Regions from separate parts of the Homo sapiens genome. Here region 2 is linked to region 1. Evidence: promoter capture Hi-C in 16 types of primary human blood cells and fetal thymus (Javierre and others, 2016). All regions are on one chromosome and are shown on one strand. Each heading gives the region's core, a stretch centred on a gene start or on the middle of the fragment in contact. The rest is flanking DNA. Distances are from core to core; before and after follow the strand shown. Region 1 holds the start of NFS1 (NFS1 cysteine desulfurase). Region 2 overlaps PHF20 (PHD finger protein 20).

Region 1 (6,778 bases), core at 549-3,048:
ATACTAGACACTCCCAAGTTTTCCAATTTTGGATTAAGAGAGGCAGGCCTTGTGAAAGAGATACTAACCCTAGTCATTACGTTAGTCCATCTCTTTAGTGCAGAAGATCCTTGGCAAAGCTGGATAATAGGCTGAGAGAAGAATATTCCTTTAAGAGAGGGACACTGACTACTCAAAGACTTTCTTTTATTAGTACATGGGCTGGGATTGATGGGAAGGGACAGATGTAGTTGGCAACCATGGTTAGCATCGGATGCCCATCCCAATGGCCATGAATGTGCCAAAGGTGCCGCCACTCTGCATCATGGTTTTCCCAATGCCGCCCATCAGCTCTCGACCCCGCATTCCGATCCTGAGGAGGAAACCAAGATGGAGCTATTTGGTAACAAAAATATCAGAAAGAGTATTAACTGCTCCTTTCCAATTTTTTGCTAACACTAGTCTAGCAACCCCTACATCTGATTTTCCACTTACTGGATATTATATCTTACTACCTGGGGTGGGTAATGAGAAGGAAAAAGATCCATCTGGGTCTCCAGGGTATTTTTCTGGTGGATGTCGTATTAACTGCCTTCAGTTTGTGGGAGGCAGCAGATGCAGTGTAAAATACATAGAGAAACCAGCTTTTTTGACTGGTGTTGCCTGCAGTTTAAGACCCAATAAAGACATCTGTCTTTTAGTTTCTTGGTGTTAATGATTTTGGAGTAAGGTGGGGGTTCAAGAGTCAGCTCTACAATTTACACATAGTGTCAAGTGTAAAATGGGCATCTCAACATTATTTACAGGATTTTGAAAACTACAGTATTTAGCACAGTGCTTAACATAGAGTAAGTGCTCTGTAAATGATAATTTACAATCTAGGGATATGGCAATAACAGCCTCTAAATGTGAAAATGACCTTTAGAGTGTAAAGTTTAACTGCTTTATCTCTGTATCCTGTATCCAGAATAGTAAAACCGCTGAACGAGTTTCTTTCCTTATGCGCAATTGGAAAAAAAAATAAAAGCAACAGTAGTAACTAGTTACTGAGCACTTAATATGTGCCAGATGCTGTGCAAAGTGTGCTGATCGAATTTTTACAACTCTATAAGTTAGATGCTACTGTCTTCATTCTACACTTAAGGAAACCCAGTCTCCAACTTGCCTAAAGTCACCGAACCAGTAAGAAAAGGGCCAGAAAGCATTTTGACTCTAAAGCTCAAATTCTTAAGCACTGACGCTTCCAACCTGACTTTACAGATTGAAGGTGGTTTGGAATGAGTCTGGCTCGCGAGGGGACAGAGAGGGAAGTCGAAAGAAGGAGGCTGTGTTCAGGCTCCAGGCCGAATGGGGCAGGGCCGGAAGGTCTGGTTGTCCTGCCCAGAGATCACCGCCCGCGCCCCTCACCTGAGACAGGAAAAGGTGCCGAAGAGCGCCCCGGCCGCCATGCCCACGGCGCAACCCATCACGAAGCCCATTTTGACACGGTCGAAGCAGCTTGGCTGGGACTGTCCGTAGGGACCCACGGCCACCGGCATCTGCGGGGGATAGGAAAGTGTGGGCCCAGGCGCTGGCCCAAGAGTCGGGCGGGGACGGAAGCGGTAGGCTGGGAAGTGGGCCCAAGGGCTCAGGGGAAGTAAGGGAAGGAAAATCAGTGGGTAGCCCGACTCCACCACCCTCTTCGCGTTCCGGCCCCGCGTCGCCCGGCGCCTACCTCACCTCGCTCGCGGGCTGGGTCGCTCAGCTCTACGTCTCTCACGGAAAACGACGGGGAGGGCGCTCGCGGCCCGATGAATCGCTTCCGGAGCGCCGGGCAGCACTTCCGGGAGCCTGGGGCCCAGGACTGCAGCGGCTTCGGAAGGTGGGCTCTGCCAGCGGGACCATGCTGCTCCGAGCCGCTTGGAGGCGGGCGGCAGTGGCGGTGACAGCGGCTCCAGGGCCGAAGCCCGCGGCGCCCACTCGGGGGCTGCGCCTGCGCGGTACGCTCGGGTCCCGCTCTCCGGGAGGCGCGGACCTGTCCCCTCCGCGCGGCGACGCAACTGAATATTCCGGAGCCTTCCTGTCCACCCTGCTGCCCAGACCCTCTGACCCTTCTCTCAAATGACACATCCCTCAAACTTTCTTAGGCGGGTCCCCGAACGGTTGACCCCGGCGCACCACCCCTCGCACCCTGCGCGACAGGCCCCCAGAGCCGTGGAGGCGCGTCCTTCAGACCGCTCCTGGCCAAGTTACAGATGCTGCTCCGGGCTCCCGTGCAGACCGTTACCTTCGGTCAGAAGGGACTGCACCTACTCTGGCTCCACGTTCCTTCTAAACGTCTTTGCCCTTTAGAGCCTTCCTTCCTACGATACCATTTGAATATCAACTCAACACCCCCTCCAGGAACCCTCTCTCCCTCTCCCTTACCTCCTTTTACAGCGTGTCAGGTATCTGGTGTTGTTTTCTTTCCATTGAGATTCGACCCTAGCATCCCTTACACTTATCTCACCTCCAGCCAGATTTTTCCTTCTGCCCTTTGGATGCCATGCGTTCATAGTTGCCTTCGGTCTTACTTGGCTACTCCGTTCCATTTTTTATCAGTTGGAGACCGTGCTCCTCAGTCTGCGGTTCCCGCAGATACAGCCGCTGCCCCGGAGGTGGGGCCAGTGCTGCGACCTCTCTATATGGATGTGCAAGCTACAACTCCTCTGGTAAGGATGAAGCTTTTCCCAAGGCTGCTTATAGGAAGTAAATGATGGGCGTGATCACGCAAAGAAATGGCTGAATCCCTGGAGAAGTGAGAGCCGTGAAGGTGTGCTGGAAAAAGCACTGAGCGAGGAGTCGGGAGGCTTAAATTCGAGGCCACTGGCATTGGCTTTACTACTCACTAGCAATTGACCTTGGTCAGATCACTTCAGCGCAGGCTCTATAGTATTAGTTAAAAGCATGGGCTCTGGAATGAGCAGAACGGCCACTTAGTAACTGTGTGAACTTGGACAAGTATTAAACGGGTTAAAAGACTAATGCAAGTTTTCACCAATGTGTGACCAGGGGTGTTTGCCTAGGCCCTGTCCTGTCCCAGCCCCTTATAGATCACATTACCTGGCAGGAATGGAAACACCAGCAGAAACAGATGTCGGAACAAGGCAGTGTTTGTAGACTACCTGAGGGGAGGCAGAACAATCCGAGTTGGGATGGGTTGTGAGTGGGAGTGTATTAGGTTGATATTTGGTGGGTAGTTTTGTGGGAACAAAAGAATGTTTGAGGCCTCCTCTAGGCAGTGCCTGAGGGGTTGAGAGTGTCTTAAGGCAGGGTGGCCAGGTCTGAGGGGTGGAGTGGGACCTGAATTGACGATGCGCTCAAGGAAAATGATCTGTTCTGTTGTGTTCAGGACCCCCGGGTGCTTGATGCCATGCTCCCTTACCTAATCAACTACTATGGGAACCCACACTCCCGGACACATGCTTATGGCTGGGAGAGTGAGGCAGCCATGGAACGTGCTCGTCAGGTTAGTACACAGGAGTCTAGGAGGTTCTAAGGTCAAAGAGGGGCAGTGGCCTGTGGGAGGCATTTCTTTCTTGGTAGGTGTGCATGGAGGTAGAAATGGTTTTGGATTCTTTCTGGAAGAGATTCAAAGAGCAGCCTTGGAGTTTGACTGCAGGCATTTGATTGGTTCCCATATTTCCTGGCTAAATGACTTGGGCAAGTTATCTAATTTCTTTGAGCCTTATTTTCCTCATTTAAAACAGAGATTGTGGTAGTTTCTACTCTGTAGGGTTACTGGGTGGATTAAATAAGACAATGCTGATAAAGTGTTTATTACCACAACATCTGTAAGTAAGAAGTACTATAAATAGTAAGAGCTCAATAGTTCTTTTTTTTTTTTTTTATGAGATGGAGTTTTCACATTTGTTGCCCAGACTGGAGTGCAGTGGCGCACGATCTTGGCTCACTGCAACCTCTGCCTCCCGGGTTCAAGTGATTCTGCTGCCTCAGCCTCCCAAGTAATTGGGATTACAGGCACACGCCACCATGCCTAGCTAATATTTTTGTATTTTTATTTATTTATTTATTTACTATTATTTGAGACAGAGTTTTGCTCTTGTTACCCAGGCTGCAGTGCAGTGGCACGATCTCGGCTCACTGCAACCTCTGCCTCCCGGGTTCAAGCAGTTCTCCTACCTCAGCCTCCCAAGTAGCTGGGATTACAGGCATGCGCCACCACACCCGGGTAAATTTGTATTTTTAGTAGAGACGGGGTTTCTCCATGTTGGTCAGGCTGGTCTTGAATTCCCGACCTCAGGTGATCCACCTGCCTCAGCCTCCCAAAGTGCTGGGATTACAGGCTTGAGCCACCATGCCCGGCCTAATATTTTTGTATTCTTAGTAGAAATGGAGTTTCACCATGTTGGCCAGGTTGGTCTCGAACTCCTGACCTCAGGTGATCTTTCCACCTCGGCCTCCCAAAGTGCTGGGGTTACAGGAGTGACCCACCACACCTGGCCAATAGTTCATTAAAAAAAAAAAGTTATTATTTTGCATTGGGCTGGAAAAGAGCCTGGGATCTGGGATATAACTAGAATCTGATTCTTGTAGGTGCAGACCTTCATCCAGGGCAATTTGGTGGAATGCAGTGGAGCTCTTCTTGCTCCAGGGCTGTCCCACCTGTGTCTGCAGCTCTATTTCTGCCTGGGGAACTGATGTTATATATCTCTGTTTCTTGGCTTGCAGCAAGTAGCATCTCTGATTGGAGCTGATCCTCGTGAGATCATTTTTACTAGTGGTGCTACTGAATCCAACAACATAGCAATTAAGGTAAGAGAAGGGAACCAGAGGGTGTATGTGGGCTTTCCTGACCTAGGAGATAGTGTCCCTCCATCATTTGGACTCGTATATGTATTTCGCAGCCATCCATCCCCACCCCATTGTGAAGAGAAGGCTTGCAGTCTTTCTGATTTGTTGCTTCCTTTAACCCTTTGCAGTCTACTCTTTCTTAAGTCTTTGCTGCTGTTGGTCTGAGTTGAGTGAGGCAGTTGGATAGCAAAGGAGGTGGCCCTCAGGCCATTAACCACTTGTTTTTTTTTTGTCTGGCAGTTACTTCAGAGAGTGGATAATGGTGATTGAACCTTTTCTCCATTCTTCTTTTTTTTTTTGATACATAGTCTCACTCTGTCGCCAGGCTGGAGTGCAGTGGCGCAATCTCAGCTCACTGCAAACTCCACCTCCCAGGTTCAAGTGATTCTCCTGCCTCAGCCTCCAGAGTAGCTGGGAGTACAGGTGCCCGCCACCATGCCCAACTAATTTTTATATTTTTAGTAGAGATGGGGTTTCACCATATTGGCCAGGATGATCTCAATCTCTTGACCTGATGATCCTCCCATCTCGACCTCCCAAAGTGCTGGGATTACAGGTGTGAGCCACCGTACCCGGCCTTTCTCCATTCTTTTTATCTAGTAACAACAAGTTATATATGTGATTTCAGGGCTGTCCTCCTCTCAGCCTTCCTTTTTCTTTCTGATCAGATCTATTTGCAACAAGTTCCTCCTGTTTCTTTAGATATCTCCATTTTGAAGTGCTTGTCTTTGTGGTGCCCTCTGCAGGCATTCACATGGTCACCCATTCTGGGATCAGTCATTTTGTCCTGGGTACATAGAAGATCTTTGGTGCTAATGCAAGGAAAAGGTACTTTTAGTAGTCACGTTGGTGTTTCATAGAACATAGTCAGATTTCACTGGGCCTGGTTGCCAGGATTATGTGAGTAAATGCCAAGGCTCTGAGAAATTGTGGCTTGCTGTACTTTGAACTCTGGCTCCACTTGCTCTCATCTTTGTCTTTGAACTGTGCTGCCAGTGTTGGTTTCTTTGACCTTGGCCTGAATATAGGAGGCCTAGGACGGGCTTCAGGGTCATCAGCACTCTGCCTGATCATGTTAACAGGAAGGCATCCTTCCTTGGGACTGCAGAGACCAGAGAGTCGGGGTGAAGGTTCCTCCAAAGGTGGAGATGGTTTCTGAAATGGAGAGCATTTTCAAAACTTCGAAAATATTTTCTTTGGAAGTCTCCACAGATTCCAAACCAACAGGTCAAGGATCGCTAAGAGTACCTGTGATGATGTTTCTTTTAATCTCCATGATTGGTAGAGTAAAATAATCTATAAATTGTTAAAGAAATCTACATCATGGGTAACTGAGATAAAATAAGGTGGGTGGGTGGTGAAATGTCATTTAAATGAAATTTTTATAAACAACTGTAACATTTTGAACTATCATCACCATCCCACAACCATTTTTTCTTTTTTTTTTTTTAGACTGAGTCTCACTCTGTCATCCAGGCTGGAGTGCAGTGGCACGATCTTGACTCACTGCAAGCTCCGCCTCCTGGGTTCACGCCATTCTCCTGCCTCAGCCTCCTGAGTAGCTGGGACTACAGGCGCCCTCCACCACACCCGGCTAATTTTTTGTATTTTTAGTAGAGACAGGGTTTCACTGTGTTAGCCAGAATGGTCTCGATCTCCTGACCTCGTGATCCGCCCTCCTCGGCCTCCCAAAGTGCCCCACAACCATTTTTACTTACTGATGTAAATACTTTTTAGGATAAAATAGAGTATAAATCAATTATAAATGTTTCTCATTTATGTTCTTTGTCCTCATGAACAGACCATTTTTACATAGTTATAATTTTGTCCTATATGGTTTAATATTCTGCTTTTATTTTATTTATGTGTTTATTTTTTATAAGACAGGGTCTCAGCCGGGCCCAGTGGCTTACACCTGTAATCCCAGCACTTTGGGAGGCTGAGACCGGCAGATCATCTGAGATCA
Region 2 (6,874 bases), core at 2,558-5,057, 220 kb before region 1:
TCAATTTAAGGTAAAGATTTAAGAAAAATTTATTCCTGTCTTCCTAATTAGATGGTGAATACATTTTAAAAGTTTAAACTGTATTTGTTCTAGCTAGCTCCCTCTAAACTTATGCCTTTTGATAAAGTTATTGAGTAGAAAAGGTACGTTGCTCACAGTGACAGGACAGTCAGAAACCGTCCCTCCTTAACACAAAGCCAGGTGGGCACTCTTGGTTCAGGTGGACAGCACAGAAAAGTCCTCTGGAACAAAAGCCAAGAAGCTCTGAAGTGAGCTTGAGACACAAGGTCTTGTGGAGCCTGGGAAGCAGGAGATCAAGTTGGCTCCTGACTCTGCCATGCTCATGGTGGCCCCAATTGCCCCGAAATTAGTTTCTTCATATAGCACATAATGGCATATTAACCTCTACCCTCAAACACACCAAGATCCTTGCTACTTATAGAAAAGTCAATAGAGAAAGTACCAGAGTGGATCAGAAATGGGTTACATACTGTTAGACAGAATAGCCCTGCCAGGAGGGACATTCATTACTCACCCACTGAAGATTTTAACAGGCAGATAAAGGGCAAATCTGTCAGACTAACAAGGCCTGGAACTGAGCATATGCTCAAGGATGACAGAGTAGAAACTAAAGATCTTCAACATCCTTTTAAAAACAAACTTAAAAAAAATCTACTAAAAAATGATAGTCTTCATGTTATATAACATTTTTTTTCTTTTCTTTTTTTTGGGGGGGAGGGTGGGGACAGGGTCTCATTCTGTCACCCAGGCTGGAGTGCAACAGAATAACCAGGGCTCGCTGCAGCCTTGAACTCCCAGGCTCAAGTGATCATCCTACTTCAGTCTCTGGAGTAGTTGGGTCTGCTGGCATGCATCACCATGCCCAGCTAATTTTTTAATTTTTTTGTAGAGGTAGGATCTTGCTATGTTTCCAGGGCTGGTCTCGAACTCCTGGGCTCAAGCAATCCTCCCGCCTCTGCCTCCCAAAATTCTGGGATTACAGCATGCCCAACCAACAATTATCTAATAGTAGTCCACAGGGCTTCAGAGAGTCTGCAAAATGTGTGTGTTTTTAAGGTAGGACAATTAAAAAAAAAAAGATGCACACTCAAACATGTTCCAAGCCATATGTTAAGACAATGAAGCCCGCCACCACACATAATTTTGTATTGCTAGGATAGCTCAGTATTATGTTGACCTCAAAACGGAGCTTGTCCTCCCATCTCTGATTAATCAAAGTAACTACACAGCATGCTGTTCAGGAAAAGTCACCCTGACAATGGCCATGTGCATCACGCTTGTCTCACTGTTGTATAACCAAATAGAGAAAAACAAATGAGCCACTGAAGTGCTCCAAGTCAGCAACTGTCTGTCACTCATAATTCTGACAGCATATTAGAATCATGGGAATATGCCCACCATTCACATGTCCGACCTCACAAGTAAAGATTATCCATTTTGAACTTTCAAAACTATTGCTGTTACCTGTTACACATTTTGGGGTTCTATGAAACAGTCCATTAGGAAAAGGGGTTCTGATATTCAAAAATGTTTGAAAACCACTGAACCAAGGTTTAATAAAGGTCTTAAATATCAGGTACCCTTGAATCCCAGAGGTTACTATGAAGGCTATTCAAAAAGACAAGACTCTCCCTCAGCCTAAAGTGTGGGTATGTATGTGTGTATGTACATGCGCATGTCCACTGGTGGTGCTGGGGAAGGGTTGGTCAGCCAGGCTAGATGGTACTATTATGTTTCAAAAACAAATTTTTCTTGTTTCACTTCTCAACTGTAAATGTAAATCCCCGTAGCTAAGGCCGCATAGGGAAAGAGCACTTGACTGGGTGCCCTGGGTTCAAATCATAATCTGATGACTTATTTAATGGTTCTACAACAATGAAAGAAATCATATCTTCGTAATTTTGTTTTCCCAAATAAGTGACTTGAGATCGCCTTGTTAGAGGTGAGATGGTATTTCTGAAAACACTCCAGAAACTTTAAATCACTACTCAGCTGTACCCAGTTACCTTAGCTCCATAGAGTTGCTTTAGTTCTATTAACAAAAAGAGCACGACTGTGGTACATCCATAGCATGGAATACTACCGGACAATAAGAATAAATGACTACTGAAACACACAACAACATGGATGAATCTCAAGGATATTATACAGAGTAAAAAAGGCCTCTCTCAAAAAGATACATACCACGTGATTCCATTAACCAAGAATCATAAATTACATAATTATAGACAGTTGAAACAGTTTAGTGTTTCCAGGGTTAGGGATAAGTATGGCTACAAAGTATGGGTACCAGGAGGGAATCTCATGGTCTTAGTATACCTCAGTACCTTGATTGCGGGAGTGATTACACAAGGCTGTACTTGTAATGAAAGCACACAGAGCTATATGCACACACAAATGAGTATGTGTATATCACTGATAAAATCTGAATAAGCTCTAGTGATTATGCCAATGTCAAATGGTTTTGTAGTTTTGATATCCTACTGTGGGTTTATGGGCTTTTGCCATGGGAGGAAGACCAGCAGAGGAATTCATGGGACTCTCCTGTACACCTCTTTACAATCTCCTGTGAATCTATAATTATTTCAAAATAAAAGTGTTTTCTAAAAGCCCTGGGAAAATAAAAGGCAAAAAAGCAAATACATCTACTCATCTCTAGTTGTTCTGAAAGTTTAAAGAGCTACGGAAAAGTCCCAATGTTTCAAGAAATAAAAGGAAAGGGGATTGTTGAGTATAAAGACAACAAATTCAAAGATGAGAGGAAAAAATGTAACTGTATATTAAGTCAAGATCCAAAAGTGAATTTCAAAAATCCATGCCATGCAGATCACAAGGTCAAGAGTTCAAGACCAGCCTAGCCAATATGGTGAAACACCGTCTCTACTAAAAATACAAAAATTAGCCGGGCATGGTGGCAGGCGCCTATAGTCCCAGCTACTCAGGGGGCTGAGGCAGGAGAATCGCTTGAACCCGGGAGGCAGAGGTTGCAGTGAGCCGAGATTGCGCCATTGCACTCCAGCCTGGGTGACAGAGGGAGACTCCGTCTCAAAAAAAAAAAAAAAAAAAAATTACCATAACAAAAATATTTTGCCAGGCGCGGTGGCTCACGCCTGTAATCCCAATACTTTGGGAGGCCAAGGCAGGTGGATCACCTGAGGTCGGGAGTTCCAGACAAGCCTGACCAACATGGAGAAACCGCTTCTCTACTGAAAATACAAAAATTAGCCGGGCGTGGTAGCACATGCCTGTAATCCCAGCTACTCGGGCAGTGGAGGCAGGCGAATCGCTTGAACCTGGGAGGCAGAGGGTGGTGGTGAGCCGAAATCGCGCCATTGCACTCCAGCCTGGGAAACAAGTGCAAAACTCCGTCTCAAAAAGAAAAAAAAAACCAAACCCATGCCATGCCAACCTACAGTACTGAAAGGGCAAGGAAATAATATTCTATCACAGAAAGCAAGCCAAAGGGGCTGGGCCTGTTTCTCATAATCTCAATAGGCTATACAGATTCTTATTGGACAATGGGCAGCCACCCCCTTTACTGGGAACAATCCCTGAACCCCCATTAACGCTATAATATAACACAGGTGGGCCCCAGGCAGTCTTTTTGCCCCTGTCGATAATCTGTAAGCTCTACTACCACCAGATCAGACAACTAGACCAGGGGAGAGCATTTGATCCATAACAAACCTCTTTCCCCTCTGGCCACAGGTGACTGTTCCAAAAACTAATATCTGATCTAAATTTGGCTGGAATTACTTACTCAGAAATTTAGAACTGGGACTAAGATTCTGACCTTGGTCTACCTAGCCTCTTGAACACAAAAATGTAAAATTGGGGCGAGGCCAAAGGTGGCCATTTTGCATTTTCCAAGAAAATAAGCAAGGAATAAAATAAAAAAGAACCAAAAGGACTCCAGAGAAGCAGGAAACAAGGCAGACCAAGGCCCTCAAGATGGAATTCCAGGTTCTGAGCCTGAAAGCAGCCCTGCCTCTGAGCCCTAGGACCCAGTCTATTTTCCCAACAATATTTGTACTTGCCCCTAAAAAAAAATCCTAACCAATATAACCATGACTTTTAAAAACTCAGCTTCCCAAGCCAGTTGGGCAGCTGTCAAGACACCCAGGGAACTTGTGACACCCTTAGGAGCCAGCCAGCCAGCGCCACCTCTCCCAGAACTGCAATTTACAGACAAGGGACAGGGCAGGCAGGTGCTGGCCAGGCATGGTTTCCCCAAGCAGGTAAGGAGGTCCCACCCACCACAGGCACATCTCAGAGATGAAGATGACAGACTCAAATGTCAGGAAAATAAAGAAAAAGAAACATAGAAGTTATAAAGCCAGCCTGCATGACTTTGGATCTTAAAGAAAATTTACCTCAAAGAGAAGATAAGAGTCCATGGGAAGATTAAACTGCCACTCCAAAGATTTCAGTCCCTGCTGTTCAACTCCTCACTTTGTGACCACAGGCAAGGCCCTTCCCATTTGCGGGTCCCAGCTGCCTCAAGCAGAGCATGAGAGGTTTAGACTCAGTGATCCCTAAAGTCCTCTCTTACTCCATCAATGGACTATGTATGGCAGCCTGGAACTCTGAGGAAGCCAAACGAAAAAGAGAAGCTCAGTCTGCTGCCGTTCGTGCTGTGTTTCTGGGGCTCTGCTATGACTTGCCATTGTTGCTGGCCTCAAAATTCCCTCCAAGGACCAGTTTGTGCTTCTCTAGACCTGTTTCCTGGAAGCTCTGCCTACCTGAATCATGAAGTCATTTTCCTCCTGGACCTCACAGATGCAGCGGACCACCTCGAAGTCATAGCGGTCATCCCCATCAAGTTCCTCATCTGGGTTGGTGGTCACATCCACATCTTGGCCATACTCATCATCACTCCAGAGAAAGCTCTCAGAAGAGGACTCACTCAAATTATCCTCCTCTACGAGGAAAGGGAAAACAACAGTTACTATTTTAGGTTATAAAATTAAAAAACCTTTGATTGTCAAGAATGAAAAATGACATTATAGTCCCATACCTCCAAACAAGAACATTCATAGGGCAAGGAAACGAGGATGCCAATCTGTCCTTGGATCTGTCATTTAGTAACAGCCCAAACGAAGCATGCTGCCTGGCAGTGAACTCAACTCCACTTCCTCATTTCACTGAGAGAATGAAGCCCAACGGCAGTGGCTACTCAAGATCATAGAACTCAGTGGCAGAGGAGCTACAACTCCCCATGAACCACACAGGCCACCATCCCTGACAACTCTAACATGTTCTTCAGCCTCACTCCATCCAGTCAGGACCTGGCTTACAGTCTGTCTGTATCCAGAGCTACCTTTAAAACTCTGTAAACAAAGGCTGAGCATGGTGGTTCATGCCTCTAATACCAGCATTTTGGGAGGCCGAAGGAGGAGGATTGCTTGCACTCAAGAGTTCAAGTCAAGCCTGGGCAACATGGCAAAACCCCATCTCCACTAAAAGAAAAAAAAAATTAGCTGGGCACGGTGATGCACGTCTACAGTCCCAGCTACTGAGGAGGCTGAGGCAGGAGGATCCCTTGAGCCTGCGAGTTTGAGGCTGCAGTGAGCTATGATCACACCACTGCACTCCATCCTGGGTGACAGCGTGAGACTTTGTCTCAAAAGACAAACAGGCTGGGCACAGTGGCTCACGCCTGTAATCCCAGCACTTTAGGAGGCCAAGGTGGGCCGATCACTTGAGCCTAGGATTTGAGACCAGCCTGGCCAACGTGGTGAAACCCTGTCTCTACTAAAAATACAAAAAAATTAGCTAGGTGTGGTGGTGTGCGCCTGTAATCCCAGCTATGGGGAGGCTGAGGCAGGAGAATCACTTGAACCCAGGAGGCAGAGGTTGCAGTGAGCCAAGATCACGCCACTGCACTCCAGCCTGGGTGACAGAGTGAGACTCCGTCTCAAAAACAAAAATCAAAAACAAAAACTCTATAGACAGTGAGGAATGAGGAAGAGGAAGATTCCAGGGATAATCAGAGGCAGAATCACTTGATGCCTGATTAGTTATAATCACAGCTAACTTTTACTAAGCGCTTGTTCTGAAGCAGATACTGTTCTAAGTCAGGCATAACTATTAATATTTTATTGCACTTCACAGATATTGTATATTATTTTACAAATTGAAGGTGTGTGGCAGCAACCCTGAAAGTCTACTGACACCATTATTGCAAAAGCAAATACTTTGTGTCTGTCAGCATTTTTAAGCAATAAAATATTGTTTTACTTTTTATTATTTTTATTTTATTTACTTATTTTTGAGACAGGGTCTCATTCTTTCTCCCAGAGTGCAGTGGCATGATCACAGCTCACTGCAGCCTTGACCTCCTGGGCTGAGGTGTTCCTCCCACCTGAGCCTCCTAAGTAGCTGAGATTACAGGTGCATGCCACAACAACCGGCTAACTTTTTTTGTATTTTTTGTAGAGGCAAGGTTTGCCATGTTGCCCAGGCTGGTCTTGAACTTCTGGGGTCAAGCAATCCACCCGCCTCAGCCTCCCAGAGTGTTGGGATTACAGGTGTGGGACATTGCACCCAGCTTTCATTTTTTAAATTGTCAGTTAACATAATGAAATGTATTGCTAGTTCAAATTTTTGAACATTACATCAAAACAAGATTGATCTAATGAACACATATGTCACATTTTTCAGGACATATGGAATAACTAAACTAATTTTATTTCAAAGAAAGTTTTAAGAAATGTAACAGTCCAGGCACGGTGGCTCATGCCTGTAATCCCAGCACTTTGGGAGGTCGAAGTGGGTGGATCACAAGGTCAGGAGTTCAAGACCAGCCTGACCAACATGGTGAAACCCTGTGTATACTAAAAATACAAAAATT

Evidence for each region. Contacts are between HindIII fragments. The CHiCAGO score rates a contact against its expected background, and 5 or more counts as called.
Region 2: a contact is called between a fragment that was not itself captured here and the fragment with the promoter of NFS1 in region 1, in 1 of 17 cell types (endothelial precursors). The highest score is 5.9, in endothelial precursors.

What each region holds. Positions count from the first base shown.
Region 1 is chr20:35,694,372-35,701,149 of GRCh38, reverse strand. NFS1 (NFS1 cysteine desulfurase) reads left to right here and starts at 1,798. Exons shown (of 13, transcript NM_021100.5): 1 at 1,798-1,958; 2 at 2,560-2,669; 3 at 3,350-3,466; 4 at 4,690-4,773. The coding sequence starts at 1,862. ROMO1 (reactive oxygen species modulator 1) reads right to left here and starts at 1,745. Exons shown (of 3, transcript NM_080748.3): 1 at 1,694-1,745; 2 at 1,387-1,517; 3 at 170-352. The coding sequence starts at 1,517. The coding sequence ends at 244. RefSeq lists enhancers at 1,121-1,340, 912-1,571, 1,572-2,231 and a silencer at 1,831-2,020. The HindIII fragment of the contact is 3,611 bases long and covers 1-2,683 here.
Region 2 is chr20:35,915,552-35,922,425 of GRCh38, reverse strand. PHF20 (PHD finger protein 20) reads right to left here. Exons shown (of 18, transcript NM_016436.5): 13 at 4,764-4,942. Among named protein-coding and RNA genes, the nearest start is that of SCAND1, 36 kb to the left of the region's middle. The HindIII fragment of the contact is 8,181 bases long and covers 1-6,874 here.